Linked DNA regions of Homo sapiens: region 2 is linked to region 1. The links are contacts of gene promoters, found by promoter capture Hi-C in blood cells and fetal thymus (Javierre and others, 2016). All regions are on one chromosome and are shown on one strand. Each heading gives the region's core, a stretch centred on a gene start or on the middle of the fragment in contact. The rest is flanking DNA. Distances are from core to core; before and after follow the strand shown. Region 1 holds the start of RALA (RAS like proto-oncogene A). Region 2 overlaps VPS41 (VPS41 subunit of HOPS complex).

Region 1 (5,619 bases), core at 2,245-4,744:
GAGATGGACACATTCTTCAAATTAAGCCTATTTAAAAGTGCATTTTAAAAAGTGCACAGGCTTAGGAGGGAAGAGAATTCTACCAGCACTGAATAGCAGCTAAACCCTTACAAGACTTCTGCCACTTTTAAGCCTCCATCTTAAACCCAGAGAAAATGATTAATGGTCTCAAACGGTTAAAAACAGACCAAGCACATCTCTGCTTCTTTTACCATTCTTTCTACTGTCCCCCATAGCTTCTCCCCCATTTCCATTAGTGAAAGAACGAACTAAAAAAAATGTGATTTCAAGGAAAGGTCACTACAAATAGATTTATGGTATTCCTCTCAAATAGGGACGATTCTGTTACTTTAAAAAGCACTAATCAAACACCAGAATTGAGTCCAAATACTTTACCGGGACACCCACGGGAAAAATGCCCAACCATTTTTCCATCATGGCACACATGGACGGTGATAACACTGTATTTGTAGGCACGCTGAAGATAAAAGAGAAGAATGGCTGCTGCTTGAGGCCACCTGGCCAGGACTGCTGGCAACCCCAGGCCACACTTGATGTCCAAGAGAGAGGAATCAGTATCTTCACCTTCCTGAAGCTCCAGTTCCAGCTCAGTCAGAACTGCCTTTTCCACAGCCATTTAGGATTAACTGCAATAATACTCAGTGCTCTCAGCAATTGTTACTTTCAAATCTAGGCTCTACTAAACACAAGCTAGGTGCCTAGCCTCTGGCAAATAACTTCAATTTACCTTAATAAAGTATGGGAAAACTACCTGTCTTGCAGAAGTGTTGTGGAGATTAGAAATAATTTAAGTAAAGCTCTTATCACAGTGCTCGGCAGGCAATCAACACATGAGAACTCTTATTACCAAGAGGGTTGCTGAATTAAAGAAGGAAAATCTAACCTCTGTATAGTGGTAATGTCACTGAGGTAAGAAATTGCTGGCTTCCCTCTCCTTAGTGTCTAAGAGTTAAAATATTTTATAAAACAATGAAAATCATAAACTGTCTCCTTCAAAATCATAGTCTTTTTCCTCATTAACATTCACAGCCTCTTATTCCAGTATTTTAAAAGTAATTGTCCTTGCCACTCATCTACTAAAGAATACAAATGCATATTACACTGATATGCATATCTACAAGAATTGACACTGGTACATGTATTTATGTTCTGTAGAAGCTAAGCTTGGAAAAACAGTGCAGGACCACCACCACATACTTGGAGAGGAGAGAAAACGTCAGCACTTTCTTCTTATTTGAACCTCCCTAATGTGAAAATAATCCAACCATCTACAGACAAAAATATTCCCTCACAAATGGTAGACAAGATTCTTTTCTATAATTAGCCCTTTCTTCCTTTGGAAAGCCCTGTGAAGAAAGTGTTGTAATGAAGTACTGCTTCAAAATAAATGATCCATATTATTGCACACTCAGCAAACACACTAGAGAACAGCATCTGGATCTTGGAAAATAAATGTAAAAGAGGCTATTGGTAAATCATGCCAAGGTCACATCAGGATTTCAGAGGATTGCGTGTATTCATGGGAAGAATGAACCACTATAAGCATTCTGGGAAGCACCACGTTATCCAAACAATGGTAACTCCTAATTTCCTCTTTTTCATTAAGATAGGGTACAGTTATCAACCCCAAACATAAACTTGATGTGTATCACCAGGCAGTCTCTTCCTACTAACTCTGAATATGCTCAAGTAGTAAGCATTTAACACTAGAATACAAGTTATAATGCCCAGCACAATTTTAATATAATTTTAACCTTTCAGAGGAGGATAGTTTTGGAAGGCAAAGAACTCTGACTGCTGAAGAATGAAACACGAAGTAAAGTCTGTAAGTGGCAAGAACCTAAAACAAAACAAACAGCCTAGCCCAACAAAAATAAGCAACTCCTGGATGGTGACTGTGAGATAACCTATACACTCATTCATTCAGTGCAGAAATGTGTGAACAGCTTCTATGTTCAAGGCATACTGCATAGAAACAGTCATAAGTAGGACATGGCTCCTGCCCTAAAGAAATCCAAGGTCAAAAAACGGTGTTGTCAGATAATACTTCACAATAATAGTGTATTATTTTAATACAGGAGTCGGTTTAGAATAATATTGTATTACCAGAGACAGAAAAACATGAGCTAATAAGACACACTGAAATACATTAATAAACATACTGTAAGAGTTTACCAATGAAATCTGTTATCCAATTTCTGGAATATGATTAAAGTTGCAATTTACTTTCTGGAAAAGAATTAACTTATGATACATGTTTTATAAAGGTTGTTCCCCCCCCACACCACACAATTTGTAAATTAGGTGCTTTTCAGCTTGACACGTAGGGCGTGGCACGGGACTTCTCACACTACCTCAGCCACACTTGGATGAGCTCTTACAAGTCTGGACATTCAGGTTTCCGAGCACAGGCCAGTTAACTCCCTAATTCTCCCTAAATCCTGAAACAACACTGCCACCCCTGTGTGCCGTCACCCCCGTCTACTTAAACACATATATCCAGGCTAAAGCATGCCAATCACATCTTCCACTTCTGGAAATCTTTCAGAAACGAACCACAGAGGAAACACCTCTCTCCCAAAATGTATTCTCTTCCTCATATTAGAAGCTAGATTACCTGAAAATGGGCTAAAGCTGTGCAAGCGCCCAAGGCCAGGTATTCAGTTCAGTGCGGAGAGTCTAATGACTTTAAGTCTGAAAAACCATTCCTTTAACTGGCAAAAAAAAAAAAAAACACAAACAAACAAAACAAACAAACAAAAAACCCTGGCGGAGATGCTTAAAAAGCAGCGGCTCTAGCACAGGCAAGGAGTGGAAAGAAAGGGAAGGAGGGGAGAGGGGTGGAGTGAGGCGCGGGGACTGCGGCGGCAGCGGGTTGCCCCAGGTCGCGGGCACCGCCCGGGCGGGAACTTGGGCGCCGTGGACGAAAGGTGCGGGGTGACCTTCGGACGAGGCCAACTGAGACCGGCTGCCGGGCGCAGGGGACCTCTCCGCAGCCGCTCACTCTCGGGGGCTCACTCGCCCCACAGCGGCGAACGCGGTGCCCCGGATTCCAGCCGGGCTCATCTCGCAGCTCGTCCCCGGGCAGAACGTGGGATGTGCAATCTCGGCAGCCCGAACCCGCGTCAGGGCCTCGGCCCGCCGCCGCCCGGACACACCCCCGCCGCCGCCCGGGTGGCCCCAGTCCCTCCCCGGGCGGCCCGAGCGGGCATCGCTCACCTGCACCGCGAGCCAGTCCGCCGCCCCGAGGGCTCCGGAAGCCGCGGCTGCGTGGCTCCGGCCGGAGGGTACTCGGTCCTTGTCGCCTGGAAGGCCCCGCGCCGGGAGCGGTCGAAGGAGGAGTCTGACGGGTGGCGGGGGAGCCTGGGCGGCTGGAGGAGGAGGAGGAGGAGGAGGAGAAGGAGGAGGAGGACTCCGACGCTTTGCTCTGGGGAGATCCACCCTCCTCCTGGCGGCTCTGCAGCAGCCGCCACAGATCACTTCCGGGGCGCTGGGGAGCGGGGCGGGGCAGCTGGGGAGCGACTTCCTGTCCGTGGGCTGAGAGGAGGGTGATCATGGGCCTGGGCCGCAGAACAGTGGCTCGGAGGGCGCAGGCTGCCCGGCCTCCGCCCCCTGCAAGCTGAGGGCTGTCCGCGCTGTCTTTCCGACGGCCCCACCCCCGGCTCTCTGAGCTCCGCGAGGTGAAGTCATCTCCCGGGGGCTCGGGAGTGGCCGCGGGCCTCGCGGAGGTTCCCGGATCTCGGCGTCGTTGCCGCGGTGTCCTTGTCTTTCTTTTGGGGACCAGGAGGGGGTTCTTGGGGGAAGGAGGGGAGAGCGGAGGCCGCCATCTTGCTTCTAGAGGGTCAGCTCATGTTCCCTGGGCGTCTCAGGGTTGAGGCCGCTCGTGTGGCGTGGCCGGGGGTATTCAGAGCGGAGCTGGCGACGTGGCTTGTCACGGGCCAAATCCCAGGAGGCGGGTCAGCCGCCTACCCTGGCTGGAGGGTCTCGTGGCTGCCCTGGGCCTCATCTAACTGCTGATCCCCTGGAGAATTCGCTTTCTCGGACGGTCTGCGAGTTCTTTCTGAGGGGTGTCGGACCCCCCTGCGACTCTGCAGGTGTCGGTGTGGCACTGAGATCATCTTGCGGCCCCATGGCACTGTGATTTGGTAGCTTGTGAGAAGTAGTTTCACTAAATCCGTAAATTTAAGTTAGCAGCTACAGATTCTTATGTCTTGACATTTATTCGCTTATCTCTCTTTGCTCCCCACAAATTGAGTACCAACTATATTCCTGGTATGAGCCATTCAAGGAATGTCCAGTCTAGTGGGCAGACATACATGAAAGCAAATCATTGCTATTGGAAGTATGGTTTATCAAGATGTACAGCGTGAAGAATGGATAGCTTTACTAACGTAGGTTAGAGTTTTAAAGATAAATAGGCATTTTCTACTACAAAAATAGGGGTGGGATGGCAAATCCGGATCCGAACAGAAAGGAGATGCAGCACGGGGACAAATAATTTGTTGAGAAGAATGAGTAATAATTACAGGTCTTGAAGTTCAAACTTAGGTTGCTGAAGAAGATGAGGCTGGAGAAGAAAACAGGAGCCAAATCACGAATCGTCTATGCCTTGGTGAGGCAATGAGTGGACAGATTACAATTTAAGCTATTCTTCTGTTGGTAGAGAACAGATAACTTGGGGGGGTGGAGGTGGGGGGGCAGAGAAGGATAAGCAGAGAGCCCACAAGGGGGCCATTGCAGAAGCCAGTAAGAGAAAACTTAAGGACCCTGTGTGAATGGTAGTGAGCATCCAAAGGAGATGGATTCCTAAAATATTCAAGAGGCCATATCAACTGGTAATTGGTTGCTAGGGGCAGCTGCCAGATAGGAGAATGGAAGAGGCAATGATGATGCCTTGTTTTGCTTTGAGGGAGGGGCAGGATAAGGGTGTATTTTACTAAATAAGATAAGGAAGAGTTAGGATGAGTCCTGGGAGGGGACATTTTTGCAGAAAAAAAATGAGTTCAGTTTTGGAGTTGATGAGTGAAGTAAGAGTGGTGCTGTCTAATGGTGGTTGCTATATGGGTCTAGAGCTCTAGGGAGGAGCTGGGCTGAAGTTGGAAACACCACAGGTTTAGATGACCATAACCAAGCTGACTGCAGTCTTACGTCATTGAGCACAGTTTCAAAACCACTTCTCCTTTCTCCCTGCCTTTACTTGGGAAAATTACTGAAATACTGCATTAAAAAACCCAATATGGTGATATGTGTCCATCCATAGACCAATATTCTAATGTTTAATGGTCTTCTAAGGACCCTAAAGGTCAGGTTTAGCAGAAACTGGATGTAACAGTGGTAACTATTAATAGTATAGCATCATTAACTCATAAAATGAAATATTATCTATGTTTATATTTTAATATTTTAATTTTTTTCTTTTTTATTCTGTAGGAATTGCTCCATTCCAATAAAAATATTTTAAATTTAATCATTGACAACAGTTAAGCTGGCCATAGGCTGAGGATTGAGGATGGTGGGTTGCACAAATATCTGCTGAATGGAGAGCTAGAAGGAGGATGACTTCAAGAAGAGTCAGCAATAGGAACGCAATGAAAGACA
Region 2 (5,619 bases), core at 1,087-3,586, 830 kb after region 1:
ACAGGGTTTGTGTGGAGCAGGAGCATTTTCCTTGCATGCTCAGTAAACACTGCTAATATTTCTCCGTGCTGGTTATTGGTAGTATGTAGCAGGGGCTGTTAATAAGTTTTCTGTTACTTTCCTCCTGAGTAGAGGATGCTTACTGCTGTATTATTTTCCAGGGTGTGAAGATTTTTGACATCATCTCAAAGCAAAGAATCACCAATGTGCCCCGGGATGATATAAGTCTTCGCCCAGACATGTATCCCTGCAGCCTCTGCTGGAAGGACAATGTGACACTGATTATTGGCTGGGGGACTTCTGTCAAGGTGGTTTTGCTTGTCTTTATAATAAGTCCGTGTTGTTATAGATCCACTGAGGGTGGTCCAAAGGACTGTGAGTCTTGATTGGCTTCTAGGACCCAAATCTTTTCACTTGGATGTTATTGTGACGTGATTACCATTTAATGCTCAAATTATTTCCTGTGCATAAGTTTTAAGATGTATTCTTTCTTTTCCATGGCATGTAAAACTATTTGTGAACTTTTTCGTGTTGAGAATGGTGCTGTCTTTTTCAATCTTCTTTTAATTTCTCACATCCCAGCTGGCCTTAGCTATTTACAGAACATGGGGTTAGTTTTGTTGTTTAGTCAGGTTTTCTTCTCTTTATTATTCTTTTCATTTTCCCTTAGCTTTGACCCTTCACTTCTTCATTAGAGTTATTGATAGTGGAGAGAGAAGGTTAAAATTAAATCATCCTGCTGCTTGGTAATAATTTGATAGAGTAGAGACCCAGACTTATCATCAATAATAAGATTTGGGCATATTTTCTGAAGTTTAATTATCTGACCCTTATGCGCCTGGGTAAATGAAATTTAGCTGTTCTGTGAAAGGGGGCCCAAAGCTCATTCACATTTATTTTATGCCTACTAGTGCTTCTGTTATATTAGATACTTCAGAGCCAAAAGTTGTTTCCCTTTAAAAAATAGACAGCTTAATTCGAACAAAATAAACTAAAAATTAGTGGAAGTATAAAAATGGCATGAGAGAGTATCCCAGCAGTAGTCTCATGGAAGAGCTCAGGCTTTGAGGCCAGACAGACCTGGGATCAAGTCCAGCTTCTCCATTTTCCTTTGGGATCCTCTGTGAGCCTTACTGTCCTCATCTGCAAAGTGGTAGTGCTAATTGTTCTCACATCACAAGTTTTGGGGAGAAATAAATGAGCCAATGCATGTAAAGAGTTTTGCATAGAATCTGATGTAATTGCTTAATAAATGTTAGCTGTCATTATTATATAAAGTTCTAGCAATGTCATGAAGGGGACGTGGCTATTTAAAATGTACTCTTCTCTGGAAAGGGAAAGTGGAAAATTATTAATGTAATGATTGTTATTAGCAAAACAAACATTGTTACACTTCAGGCCCTCCCAGCCCTCATGTTGTTATCATTCAGGTTCTTTTTTCTTCATGTGTTACATGAACACAACCTGATTTATATTTAGGGTAACAGGAAGGAAACTGTGCCTATATCGTAGGATGGAAAAAGGGATTCCCTGGGCTCCCTGTCCCACGTGTGTGGTTACTCATCCAATAAATTTATATTCTTAGTATTTTAAAAATCCCTTAAATGGACCAGGTTGCTTGTTAGTTTTAAAGTTCTGATTTTCTTTTCTTATGGTGAAAGACAAGGAAAATTAGCCTGTAGAAATATGTAACAAGTTTACTCATTACTCCCAGAAATTCTTTCTCTGGTATGCTGAATAATGGCCCCAAGGATAGCAAGCCCTAATTCCTAGAACCTATAAATGTTTCTTTATATGACAAAAAGGTAAATATTACTTTATTTAGCAAAAGATATGATTAAGTTAAGGATCTTGAGATGGGGAATTAACCTACATTATCTGGGTGGGCCCTAAATGCAATCACGTTTATCTTTATGAGAGGGAGGCAGAGGGAGATGCTAACATGGAAGAGAGGAGGAGAAGGCAGTACCACTGTGGAGGCAGAAATTGGAGTGAGGTGGTCAGTGAATGGTGGCAGCCACCAGAAAGCTGGAGGAGACAGCAGATTGTCCCCTAGAGCCTCCAGAGGAAGTACAGCCTTGCCAACACCTTGATTTTAGCCCAGTGAACCCAATTTCAGACTTGTAGCCTGCGGAACTGTAACAGATGTTTAAAACAACATCTCTGTTGTTTTAAACCACCAAGTGTGGCAGTCTGTTATAGCAGCCATGGGAAACATATACCCTTTCTTTATGCCCAAGTTAAGATCCAGCTTCTATACAATTTTTATGTCAAATATTTCATTTTATTGGAGGTTCCTTTTCTTCAAACTCAGTTCTATATGTTGAGCACTTCTCAGTGTAGACTCTTAGTGAGTTCTGTTGAAGGAAGAGGAGATAAGGACGTGGTCTTTCTTCAGAGGGACAGCAATCTTGTTGGGGAGAAGCAACCAGAAACAGTAAAATAAAGTGTGCAATTGGACCTTACCATTTACTTCATTCATTCATTTGCCCAACAAACGTTTACCAGGTGCCTGCAGTGTGCCAGGCAGTGTTCTAGTGTTGCAGAACACAAATATACAAATGAATGAGTTCCTTCCCTTGGGAAATTTATGTTCTAGTGAGGAAGGTGGACAAAAACAAGTAAGTATAGCATGTTGAAGGTGGCAAATAAAAAGGAGAACATTTTAACAGGATAATAGGAAAAGGGATTGGGGTAGGTACCATTTAATATAGGGTGGTCCAGGGATGGCCTGTCCAATAACTAATATGTTGTTTGGTCAGAGATCTGGAGAGAAAAGTTATACAGCTCTATGGGGGCCTGGGGTAGGAGGTGTTAGCAGAAGGAGCAGGAGTGCAAAAATTCTTGAAGCAGGAGTGTGATTGGTGTGCTTTTGAGGAACAGCAAGGAAGCTGTTTGTGTCAGAGTGAGTGGAGCAGATGTGGAGGAGAGGGATGTAAGTGGGGGTCGGGGAGGGTGTGGTGGAGGAGCAGGTGATGTTGGAGCCCAGGGGCCCTTGAGAAGTCTTTGGCTTTTAATTTGACTGAGGTAGGAAGCCAGCACAGGGCTTTGAGCTGTTGTGGAGTCAGTTAAGTGATCTAACTTGTATTTTGGAAGGATCTCTGGTTGCTGTGTGGAGCTAAACGGCAAAGGGGCAGTCAAGAGGGGAGACCAATTAGGCTACCGCAGTCATCTCCATAAAAAATAATGTTGTCTCAGGTCAGTGTAATGCAGCTGGTGAGAAATGACCAGATCCTGGATATATTTTGATGGTAGACTCTGCAGTATTTGTTGACAGTTGGATGTGGGGTGTAAGATCACAGTCACCTAACATACTGGAAGGTGAAACTACCTTTTGCTGAAATGGGAAAGACTGTTGATAAAGCATGTTTAGAGTGAAAAAGGCAAGAGTTGGTTTTAGGTGTGTCTACTTGAGAGATGCCTGTTATCCACCCATGTGGAGAAGTGGAGGAAGCAGATTAGAGTTCATGGGCAAGAACCCACCTATCAGTGGTAAAGGGCTCTTACAGTCATTGATTTGTGCTTATGCAAGACATGAGCTTAAGGTAGCACTTACCTATTCACCCACCTTTACCTGCCACTTCCTACCTATGAGACAGGTGCTGGGTGAGCCCAGACCACAGAGCTGAGGAGTGCAGTAGAGCCATGCCCAGCTACCAGTAGTGCAATGCATCCTTGTTCTCAAGCTGTGGCATGACCAGCGAGATACCAGTCAGGCCTTGGTGTGAATTCCAGCTCTGGCCAGGCAGTCTGGCATCACTCACAGAGCCTCAGTGTCCTCATCTCTGGATTAAACATAATAACATTGTCTTTCAGGGGTGTCTGAGTGTTGGAAGACTGTCAGCCCTCAAGTTCTGTCAATGTCTCTCAAATCTCTGCACTTCATCTTCCTGTCAAGTCTTTTTGGTGCTGGTTTTACCCCCCCTAAACCTATCCTAAACAGTATAGCTAGAATAATCTAAGTGCAGGTCAGATGAGGTCAGTCCCCTCCTTGCCCATAGGATAACTGATCATAAACATGACTTCCAAGGTTCTTTGTGATCTGCCTCTCCGTTACTCTCCAGCCTCAACTCTGTCCCCTTCTTCCCCCATGCCCTTCATTTCTGTCCGATTGAGCTTCCAGTTGAAGGCCCTATGCTGTCATATCACCGTGTTCTCCTGTGTTGTCTCTCCTGCTTCAACTTACATGTCACTTCTTCCAGGAAGTCTTCCTGCCCTAGCAGGAGATGCCCCTGCTCTGTACTTCCCTGTCACACTTCAGTAAAGTGCCTTATTTTTGTGTCTCCCCCACTGCACCATAATCTTAAGAAAATAATGATATCTATTTCACAAAGGCCTTAACTCAGGAGCACTGCCAGTAACTGCCCAAAAAAGTGTTCACTAATATTGCCGATACATTTGCTTTTTTATTATACTTCAAACCATTTGAAAGACTGTTCCTCATGTACTTATATCAGCACATTAAAACAGTTGTCCATTTGGCATTGTGGAATGTGCCATTAGATGATTTAGTAGTTTCCCTAGTAAGTGTGGGAAGAAGAGTGGATAACTTATAAGCTCAAAAGTCTACCAGAAGGGAAGAAAATTGGAGAAGTGGACAGGCAGTTATATGAAACGGACAAGAGACAAATGGCAAAAAGCAATCAAGGAAGAAGACAGCCGGTCACTTCTATGTGGAGGCTTCTACCTCTGCAGCCATGGGTTCAAGCCCCGCCTGAGGGAAAGTGGGCACTCTGCATTCACTGAGTCGCTGCAGTGTTGCTGGGCAGCAACTCAGTATACTACGTATATTAAAAAACAAAACCTTACAAAAGTTTATGTACCCATTGGTATCAATTCTACTTCTAGGAATTTATCCTAAGTAAACAAAAGTCCTAAAGTTTTATATATAAGTATGTTGATTGCACTATTGCTTACAATAGATATAAAAACAAAAAAATATGCCCCCAAAGGGGGTTGATTAAGTATAGTACATTCATGTAATAAAAGGCAATCATCCCTCAGTGCCTGTGGGGAATTGGTTCCAGGACCCCTGTGGATCCTGGGCTCCTCTGATGCTTATATAAATGATGTAACATTTGCATATATAAAATGATGCGGTATTTGCATATAACCTATGCACATCCTCCTGTATACTTTAAATCATCTGTAGATTACTTATAACACCTGATACAATGCCTACACATCACTGCATTTGCATAGACTTAATGAAGTAGTTGGTGTACAGCAAGGTCAAGTTTTGCTTTTTGGAATTTTGTAGAATTTTTTTTTTTCCTGAATATTTCTGATCCTTGTTTGGTTAAATCCATGAATGTAGAATTCATGGATGCAAAACCCATGGATATGGAGGGCTCACTGTATTATAACAACTTTACAGAATTATGTTGTAGAAGAATCTTTAAATAACATATTGAATTACTTGTATTAAATTGTTAGGTTAATAAAAGTAGCTTTCATAAAAAAGATTATTAATGGTGTTCTCTTTGTGCTGGAACAATGACTAATGCTTGTTTTCCCCTTTGAGTTTTTCTATATTTTAGAATTTTCCATACCATAGTTACAGTTAATGGTAGCAGCTATAAAAGAACACTATGTAAAAGAAAAAGGAAAAATCCCTGA

The links. Contacts are between HindIII fragments. The CHiCAGO score rates a contact against its expected background, and 5 or more counts as called.
Region 2: a contact is called between a fragment that was not itself captured here and the fragment with the promoter of RALA in region 1, in 1 of 17 cell types (neutrophils). The highest score is 6.0, in neutrophils.

The regions. Positions count from the first base shown.
Region 1 is chr7:39,621,447-39,627,065 of GRCh38, reverse strand. It overlaps RALA (RAS like proto-oncogene A), which reads right to left and starts at 3,494. Exons shown (of 5, transcript NM_005402.4): 1 at 3,241-3,494. It overlaps LOC107986785 (a long non-coding RNA gene), which reads left to right and starts at 3,589. Exons shown (of 2, transcript XR_001745175.2): 1 at 3,589-4,633; 2 at 5,452-5,619. RefSeq lists silencers at 2,291-2,340, 2,935-3,444 and an enhancer at 2,771-3,618. The HindIII fragment of the contact is 9,610 bases long and covers 1,187-5,619 here.
Region 2 is chr7:38,790,154-38,795,772 of GRCh38, reverse strand. It overlaps VPS41 (VPS41 subunit of HOPS complex), which reads left to right. Exons shown (of 29, transcript NM_014396.4): 9 at 162-308. Among named protein-coding and RNA genes, the nearest start is that of VPS41, 120 kb to the left of the region's middle. The HindIII fragment of the contact is 7,889 bases long and covers 1-5,619 here.